Regions from separate parts of the Homo sapiens genome. Here region 1 is linked to region 2. The links are contacts of gene promoters, found by promoter capture Hi-C in human tissues and cell types (Jung and others, 2019). All regions are on one chromosome and are shown on one strand. The core of a region is centred on a gene start or on the middle of the fragment in contact, and the rest is flanking DNA. Distances in the headings are between cores, read along the strand shown.

Region 1 (4,208 bases), core at 573-3,072, 170 kb after region 2:
TAAAGAGGGAAGAAATAGGGTAATAGTTTGAATGGATAGAAGGCTAAAATCTTTCTTAAAGTTTATGCATGCTTGGCTGTGTTTACTGAATATAATCTATTTTATGGGGGTCCCAAAGAAAATTTTTCTGTAGCCATCACAGCTACCTGTAAACATTTATTGTTCATTACCATATGTTTAGAAAATAGAATCAAGAAAGAGCCATTATTTTCTTTTTGATTTTCACATGATTTGGATTTTCCACTGAAGTTCAAGCAAAAGTCAACTTGGGATCTTGGGAATGAACTAAGACGTGGAAATGCTTAGGTCCAACCATGCTCTGAGGAAGGCTTTATGATGGAGATGGAATCAGATACTGAACGAAAGAATTTGAAGTCATTGCAGGGTTATCTCCAGCCAGAGGGGAAATGGCCAGTCAGGAAGAACAACTGGCACAAGGAGCCAGAGCAGTGGCTTGCCGATAACCCTTGGGAAGAGCAACCCTCTCTTTAAGGAAGTCACAGAATTAGCTTCCTGAAAAAACACATTAGTTTGACGATTCACTTGATCTCAAATGAGGTATGGATCATGGTGATTCTTAAAAAAAATGAGGCAGTTTTAGAAAACTTGAGGAAATCCCTCTTTTAGGTTACAAACACCACAAGGGTTTTAAAACAAAAGCTCTTAGCTAAGGGATAATAATTTCCATATGCACGTTTGGTTCTAACATGAGAATATGTTTCCAAAGACGGGTGTATTGTCTGTCTTCAAGGGAATCTTTAAGGCTTATAGAGGCAACTGGCTAGCCACTGAATTCCAGTGAACTCCTGATAGACTCTGCCCATCCCTAATATGTTTTCAATGGTGAGAAATTCTGCCACTGGCCACTGCAGAATTTTCTTTGCTTCCAATTTCCCCATAACAACAGGGCTTTTTCTTGTTTGAGGAGGCTCCCATATCCTAAATGCAGATCCAAGAGAAAAGCTTTGCATGTCCTCATTTGTTCTCCATATTTGTGACTTCTAGTTGGAGTCGACCCTTTTACTGGTAGGGTCGTTATGCTTACTATGTGTCAGGCACTGTTTTGAAGACTTTACAGGTATAGCTCATGAGATCCTCACATCAGTCTTATGACACAGCTCTATTATTATCTATTCTAAAAGAAGAGGAAAGGACAACCCCAACCTGCTGAAAGTTTTCAGCTAGTAAGCGGCCAGCCATCAATTAACATCACTGTGCCATGCTGCCTTCTGTAAGTACAATGTGACTAATGGCTTTGAAACTGAAGAGCTTTTGTGAGTGACTGGTTCATAGTTTTGATAGTGAGGCCAGTGTCCAAATTACCAGTATATTCAGGTTTGGGCCATTTAGCCTCATTTGGAAAAGCCATGGAAAGAATGAGTATTGGAATATGAAAATATGCTAGTCTCTCCATTTCTTAGAGGTGTTATGAATAGTACTTCTTTGTAATTAAAAGTTGTTTCAACTAAGAAACAAGCATTCTTTCGAAAAATATAGTCTCTTCTATTATGCAAAAGAACCAGGCCAGACACAGGTTCACACTAAAAAGACAGGTGTGTAAAATACAGACTCTAATTGTAGCTCAGAATATTATAATATGGTGTGTTTAGAAATAATTATCAAAGAATAAAAACTTAAATTAATATCATATTTGTGGTGAAACTTTCTGTACAATTGAACCATCTGCTGCTCCATCCCTGTCCTCCCCCACATACAATTATAGTCTGTTGTGATGAGATTCTACCTTTTTCACTACCCAGGCTTATCAAAGCTATAAACCGGTCACATAATTCACAGAAGGTTAAAGATACGTGGAGAACTTGGATAGGGTCCAGGGGAGAGCAATGAAAATGATTAACGGGTTGGAAAATAGCACTGATGAAAAAAGATGAATGGAATCAGGATTACCGGTATTGAGAAGGTTTAGAGGTGACTTAATAACTGTCCTCAACTGTATGAAGGACTATTAAGAGAAGCATGGTGACCAAATGTCTTCCAAGAAGGAGAAAAGGATCTAGCCTACAACAGGGAAGATTTAAGCTAGATGTGAATTTCAAACACGATTCTCCTCTCCATCCTCACTAGTGTCATTTATTGACTCTCTTCCATTCCTTGGATCATCATTATTGATTTTTAATGATAAGGATGAAGGTGAATGGCACCATGGCTGAAACAGTTTAATAGATAACTAAAAGATTTCTTCTCATGAAGGCAGTGACTCTCAGTTGGAAGTTTGGAGTAGAAAGATGAATCAGAATCACCACACTGGGAGCTTTTACAAAATACAGATGCTCCAGGGTCCCTCACTGTCCTCTACCTTCCCTTGAAGAATAAGTGCTTTAAAAGATTGTGCTCTCGATTAGTTAATACAGATAGGTGAAAGCAGGAAGATCTTAGTGGTGTATAATAAAACTTTGGTGATGAGTGTATTCAATGGGGTGTTTTGATTAGTTGGCCATTTTAGTTAGCTTATAGCTAATGTATTTCAATGCTTACACCTTGAGAATAGTTTGATCTTTTTAACTTTTCCTTGCTTTAATTGTATTCTCAACAGTTAGAACTTGTGGCATCTGACTTCTTGGGTAGCAGTTTTGCAAAGCATAGCAACATGAATCAAGAGTAAGGCAAAGAGCGGGCTTGGTATTTGGGCTGCCTTACGCCCTTGGGAGCCAGAGAGGAAGAACTGGGCAGTGTGAACTGTCAACTTGTTAGTTTTACCAATAAGTTTACTCTCTGAAAATATTCCCTCTCAAAAATTTATCAGTAAAAATCACAAGAGCAACATCACTTAAAATTAGGTGTTTCCTTTGGGTAATAAAAACTGAGATTGTCCCCTGTTTTAAAATATTAAGGTGGAGGAAATAAAACACAAGGCAAGCAGAGAAGACGGTGAAATGGTCAGTGTAATGTTTACATGTTATGAGAAGGCTGTATAATCATAACAATTATTTTCCCTCAAAAGCTCTACCTCTTTGATCTAGCTCAAATTTCACACCAACCATCAAAGATGATTGCTGCATAAATCTGTATTCTTTCCTACCGTTTAAGGTTATTGGTACTTTGATTAATTTAACCACGTTACTGTCAGGTTGAACACACTCATCTTCTGTTTCAAAGTGTGTACTCGTCAATCTCTCTATGGTTCCTTCCCTTCAGGCCTTATTTCATCACATTTAAGGAGACTCTCCTGCCCTTTATCTTGTTAGGCTTTCAACAGCTTAAGTTGAATCTTCATTCTTTCATTCTTGCTGTCAAGCTTTCTTCAATAGGCTCTCTCATTTCCCTATTCATAAAGTGTCAGGGCTGTTTCTGTTTCACACAGCATTATATGCAGAGTCAGACGTTGCTACAGATTAAATCATTTCCCATCTGAGGAACTTCAGTTACCCAGTATATAAATATACACCCAGTGTATGTGTGAAATATATATATATATGTATACATATGTGTATATATAAAAATACATATGTCTGTATGTCTTACATACATACATATATATGTATGTAAGACAGTGTTCAAAGCAGAGTGTGGTGTTCCTCGTTAGATTCTAAGGGAACTGCAAAGTGAAGGAGGCAGCAATGTGGTTTTGTTACTGGTGGGAGCTCGTGGTGCTATCTGAGAAGGGAGAAGAACCATACAGGTTTTGCAAGAGATTAAAGCTTCATTATTCCTTTTGAAGATGAGGAATATAAAATGACAGTGTTGCACAGGTATTTAGAATCAAGTTTTATGAGACATGCTACTTGATCAAATAAACCATATTTGCAAATAAACCATATTAACGGTGAGTTCTGTTCTTGAGCCCCAGTGCTTGGTACCCAGCAAATGTTCAAGTATCTTTTTGAACGAATAAATGGAGTTGTATGGTATGGCTGGAGGCTCAAGAAAAATGATAGAATACAGTGACTAAAAGACATATTAGCTAAAGTTTCAGCGCTTGAACAAGAAGATTGTTCATTGTTCTGACTATAGCTTTCTATTCTATTTAAATAAGAAAAGACAGGTAGGTACGATTATGTTTCTAAACATGAGTTATTATCATTACTATTTTTTAAAATGGAGTCTCTCTCTGTCTTCGAGGCTGGAGTGCCGTGGTGTGATCTCGGCTCATTGCAACCTCCGCCTCCTGAATTCAAGCAATTCTCCTGCCTCAGCCTCCTGAGTAGCTGGGACAACAGGTGCTCACCACCACGCCTGGCTAATTTTTG
Region 2 (4,350 bases), core at 1,286-3,785:
GACAGCGGAGACTTCAAACCAGAAGGGGAGGGGTACTCCAGCCGCGCCTCATTCCGCCTCCCACTCCGCCAACCCCCCTTCTAGAAAAGTTTAAAAGACGGGGACCTTTAAATTTGGAGGTTCGGAGACTCCGATTCACTTCAGTCTTCCACCTCCCACCCAGTTCCCCTCACAGAACCCACCCCCTACCTCCCCAACCCTCCACGTGGTTTATAATTTCTCAGCAGCAACAGCAAGCTCAGCTTCACATGTGGGTCTTGCATTTAATCTCAGAGTTTGGTACCTTGGTCCCCTCCTTTCCTAGGAACATTTCTTGCACCCCTCTTAACCTCCCGTCTCCAAGGGAACCTAGACATAGACAGACCCCCTGGGGATGAGGTGAAAGGGATTAGCCGGAGGAGTGGAGGGGAGGATGGCGGTTCTTTTCTTTTTTCTTTTCTTCTCTTTCTTTTTTTTTTTTAAGCTACCTTGGCGGTTGGGCACCAAGGCAAGGTGCTCAGCCACCCCTGGGGTGCCTGGCAGGGAAGGTGAGGATTGGAGGGACAAGACCTAGATTTTGACAGCTGGGATCTTCAGGTGCTGCTGGTCTGTCCCCTGGCCTAGGGGATGGTCCCTAGAGAGTCTCTTACACCGATCAGAAGCAGCCTTATGAACTTCTTGCCAGTCAGCCTAGTGTTTGTCTCTCCCTAGAGATTTTGTCCCCCCTTCCAAAGCCTCTCAAGACCCATTTCTCCGTTTCCTCGGAGGACATTTGCTGGTCAGAGGGTAGGCACCTCTCCATCTAAACTGAGGGAAGCTGGTGGAGTCACATTTTGGGGGAAGTTTCAGAGTCAAAGACCTGTGTGAACCTAACAGAATGTTGGAATGGCTGGTGCTTTTGCACACACCAAATGTGTTAGCACACTCACCTTTATGCACAGGACAGCGGGAATTCTAGGTCTGGAAAAAAACCCAGGTGCCTCTTTAATTCAGAGTGGATAATAGAGTTCTCTTGTGCCCACGCGTGTGGGCACTAGAGCCTTCTCTTTTGGAAGTTGTTTTACTCCTGTTGTGAGTAATTCCCTCCTTTACCTTCCTACTTCCCTTCCTCACATTTCAACCTTATACATCTGTCTCCCTTGAGACCTGTAGCTTGGTTCTCCAGGGACCTCTATCTTACAGCCAAATGCCCCCAGAATTACACAGCTCTGGATAAAGGAAAATGGTAGGCATCCTTAACAAGGACAAATTCTTTGAACTTTGATTCTCTTGAATAAAGAGATTTGCAGGCCATTGATACCCTTTGGGGTTGAACCTTGTTATTTGCTCTCTCATGTCTGCAGTCCTAGATTTGATAATAAATACCAACAGGTACGACTGGGCATTCTCAATGATTCCCCTTTCCCTCCACAGCCTTTGCCAAACTCATGCCCAGGACCTGCTTTTCTTTTCCTTTAACTTGAACATCAAGGATGTATTGTTGCAGCACGGAGACTGAAAAGATTGTAATTTTCTTTTATGGTGTCTGGCAGGATTTGCAACAGATATTAATGGGGACATAAATAGCACATGGAAGGTATTGAACAAAACTGTTTAATGCAAGAAGGTTGTACCAAAAGAAAATCTATACCTAGTTGGGATTGATTCATACCTTGTACACAGCTAGCCCCTTTAGGAATTCCCATTTCTGAGTGGCACTTCATTGGTAAATCCTGTAATTAAAGGAAATTTCAACAATGTATTTTTTTAAGAGTGTGTGATTTTCCTCCCTACTCCTCTTTCTTTTGACCCCGAGGTTGTAGGTTTAAGCGAGTGAGTGAAAATGGCAGGCAAGCAGAGCTGCATCGGGAGGCGACCGGGGCAGCAGTGGGGGAGGCCGGAAGGTGACAGCCGACCTCTGAGAAAGCAGGAGGTCTTTGGATGTCAAATGCCAGCGCCGGCCCGGACCCGGGAATCAAGGGTGATCATTACTACTTGGTAGGGAAAGAATACTGAAATGTCCCAAGGATGGCAGCAAGCATTGGTATTACAGCTAAAATCGAGGAAAAAACCAGTTATTTATTCTGCTTACAACCCTGAAAGCGGAAGCTGCAATAGCTTCAGTAGCAGTAGCAGCGGCAGCAGTAGATTTCTCAAGTTCAGGATGATTCTCACTTTCTCCTGGATTATTAGCCGAGGGTCCAGCCCTTCTAGTTCTTTAACAGGAGAAGGGTTTTTAAAAAATGTTTTTAAAGTTTTTTTCCCCCCTGGCTTCTTGCTTCCCTCGTAGATGGTATAGAAAAATGTCTGCAATTTATGGTGGGAAAAACAATAACAATAATCATGATACAAGCTTGTTGGCGATTCTAACATGGAATCAATCCTCTGCCCAAGCCTTTTCAATTCCCCCCTCCCCTTTTTTTGGGCGAGGTGTCTGCTCCCCTCTGGCTCCCTGCGTTCGCTCCCCGCCCCCCGCCGCCCTCCCCGCGGCTCCCTTTCTCCGCCTCCTCGGCGATTGCCATCTGACAAGATCTCCAAATCAAAGTGATAAATCGCTCCAAACTTTTTTTGGCGGCGCTGAGATGTTGGAGGGGCGTCTAGCGCGCATGTGCGAAGGTGTCCAAACTGACAATGCTGGAGAGATAGCGAGTGTGGATTGAGAGAAAGGGAGAGAGGGAGGGAGAGAGAGTGAAAGAAGAAAATACAGAGAGTGAGTGTGTGGAAGAGAGAGAGAAACAGGAGAGAAACAGGAGGGAGGGAGAGAGAGAGAGAGAGAGAGAGAGAGAGAGAGAGAGAGAGAGAGAGAGAGAGAGACAGGAGAGAGAGGGAGGGAGCGAGAGGGAGAGCAAAAGAAGGAAAGGATCCAAGAAAAAAAAGCCCCAACCACACACCAGCGGCTGCAGGACTGGGCACAGCATGAGATCCAAAGGCAGGGCAAGGAAACTGGCCACAAGTAGGTGCAATATCCCTTTTCTATTGGCTTTTCCCCCTCCTCTGCCATCTTGCATATCTGTCTCTAGCGCTCCGGGAGGGAGCGCGGGCTGCCTCTTGCGCCGGGGCCCCGGGTGGAGGGCAGGCGGAGCGCAGCCCCAGCAACCTGCCGGTTCCAGTCTCTGCTCCCGGTCGCCCGCGCTCTCGCTCCCGGGTTGGGCGCCGGAGGAGCCTGGGCAGCCCTCAGTCCCGCGCACCGACCAGCTGTGGCAACCCCGGGGTGGGGGTGGGGGTGGGGGCAGCAAAGACTAGGGGTGGGAGGGAGGAGAGAGCGCGAGAGTGAGCGCGAAGGGGTGGGGTGGGGGGGAAGAGAAGAGGAGAAAGTCTCCCCCTCCCCTCCCCTTCCCCCCAGGCGGGGGAGAGTTGCCTCTGGCCAACCAGCTAGTCCCGGGTGTGGGAGGAGGGGGGCGCGGGGGATGGGGGGCCGGCAGGAGAAGGGAGCCTTTTCGAGCCTCGGTTTGTTTCTGGGGTTTGGGTAGGGTAGGCGGCTCAGAGGGAGCCACAGTGGCGGCGGCGGCGGGCGGCTGTGGTGGACTTGGGAAAAGTTGCGAGGCGGCCGCTGGAAGTTGCGCGGGCGGGCGGGTGGACTGCGCCGAGCCGCGGCTGCGGTAGTGGGCGCTGTGCGCTCGGCCATGCTCTCCGGCGCGGCGCTGCGCGGCGGGAGGACTGCGGCGGGGAGTAGGGGACACCAAGGTGGGGGCTGTGATCGCGGGGTGGGGGCGGGGGCACGGGCAGAGCAGAGCTACCGGCTCCGCACAGCCACGCGCAGGTGGGGAGGAAAGAGGCCCAGCGAGCGCTCGGACGTGGGGAGAGAAGAGGCCCAGCGAGCGCTCGGAGAGCCGGGAGTGGAGGGCACACAGCCAGCGGCGGCAGCCTAGGAGCAGGAGGCAGAGAGGGCGCGCTGCGACCCGCGCACCTCGGGCTTGCTGGGCGCCGAGCAAACCCCAGGGGGCGGGCTGCCAGAGCGTTGGGCCGCGGAGAGGGCGCAGCGCAGCCTCCGGCGCTTCGTCTGGGTGCAGCCTGGGTCCAGGGTCAATAACCCTCCCCGGCGCCCCCTGCCTGCCCGGCGCGGAGCGGCCTTGGTCTGGCGGGATGTGGGCTAAGGGGTTTGGGGAGGGGGCGGTGGGAGTCCCATCCCCCACTCTTACAGCAAAAGTGTTGGATGACTCGCCTGGCTTTGCCGGCGGGGCCCACACTTTCCCACACGGTGTGATGCTCCGCCAGGACTGTAGACGACAGGACTGCGTTTGTCCAAATGCTTCTACTTCGAGTTGAAGGGGACTCAGGGACACTGAGCCCCGGAGCGGCTGGGAGCGCTCTTCCTTGAGGTGTCAATAGGCGGGGCTGGAGCTGCCTCGGGAGTGGACAGGCCGCGGTTCTCTCTCCCACACTCGCACTCGC

The links. The method cuts DNA at HindIII sites, captures the fragments that hold promoters and counts their contacts. A contact is called where the count stands out against the background at its distance.
Region 1: a fragment that was not itself captured here is called in contact with the fragment with the promoter of MECOM in region 2 in 1 of the 25 tissues and cell types used here (lymphoblastoid cells).

Annotation. Positions count from the first base shown.
Region 1 is chr3:169,492,805-169,497,012 of GRCh38, reverse strand. The region is part of intron 1 of MECOM (MDS1 and EVI1 complex locus); the gene reads left to right. Among named protein-coding and RNA genes, the nearest start is that of MECOM-AS1, 47 kb to the right of the region's middle. The HindIII fragment of the contact is 4,985 bases long and covers 1-4,208 here.
Region 2 is chr3:169,661,897-169,666,246 of GRCh38, reverse strand. It overlaps MECOM (MDS1 and EVI1 complex locus), which reads left to right and starts at 2,535. Exons shown (of 17, transcript NM_004991.4): 1 at 2,535-2,911. The coding sequence starts at 2,875. RefSeq lists a silencer at 3,544-3,643. The HindIII fragment of the contact is 10,305 bases long and covers 47-4,350 here.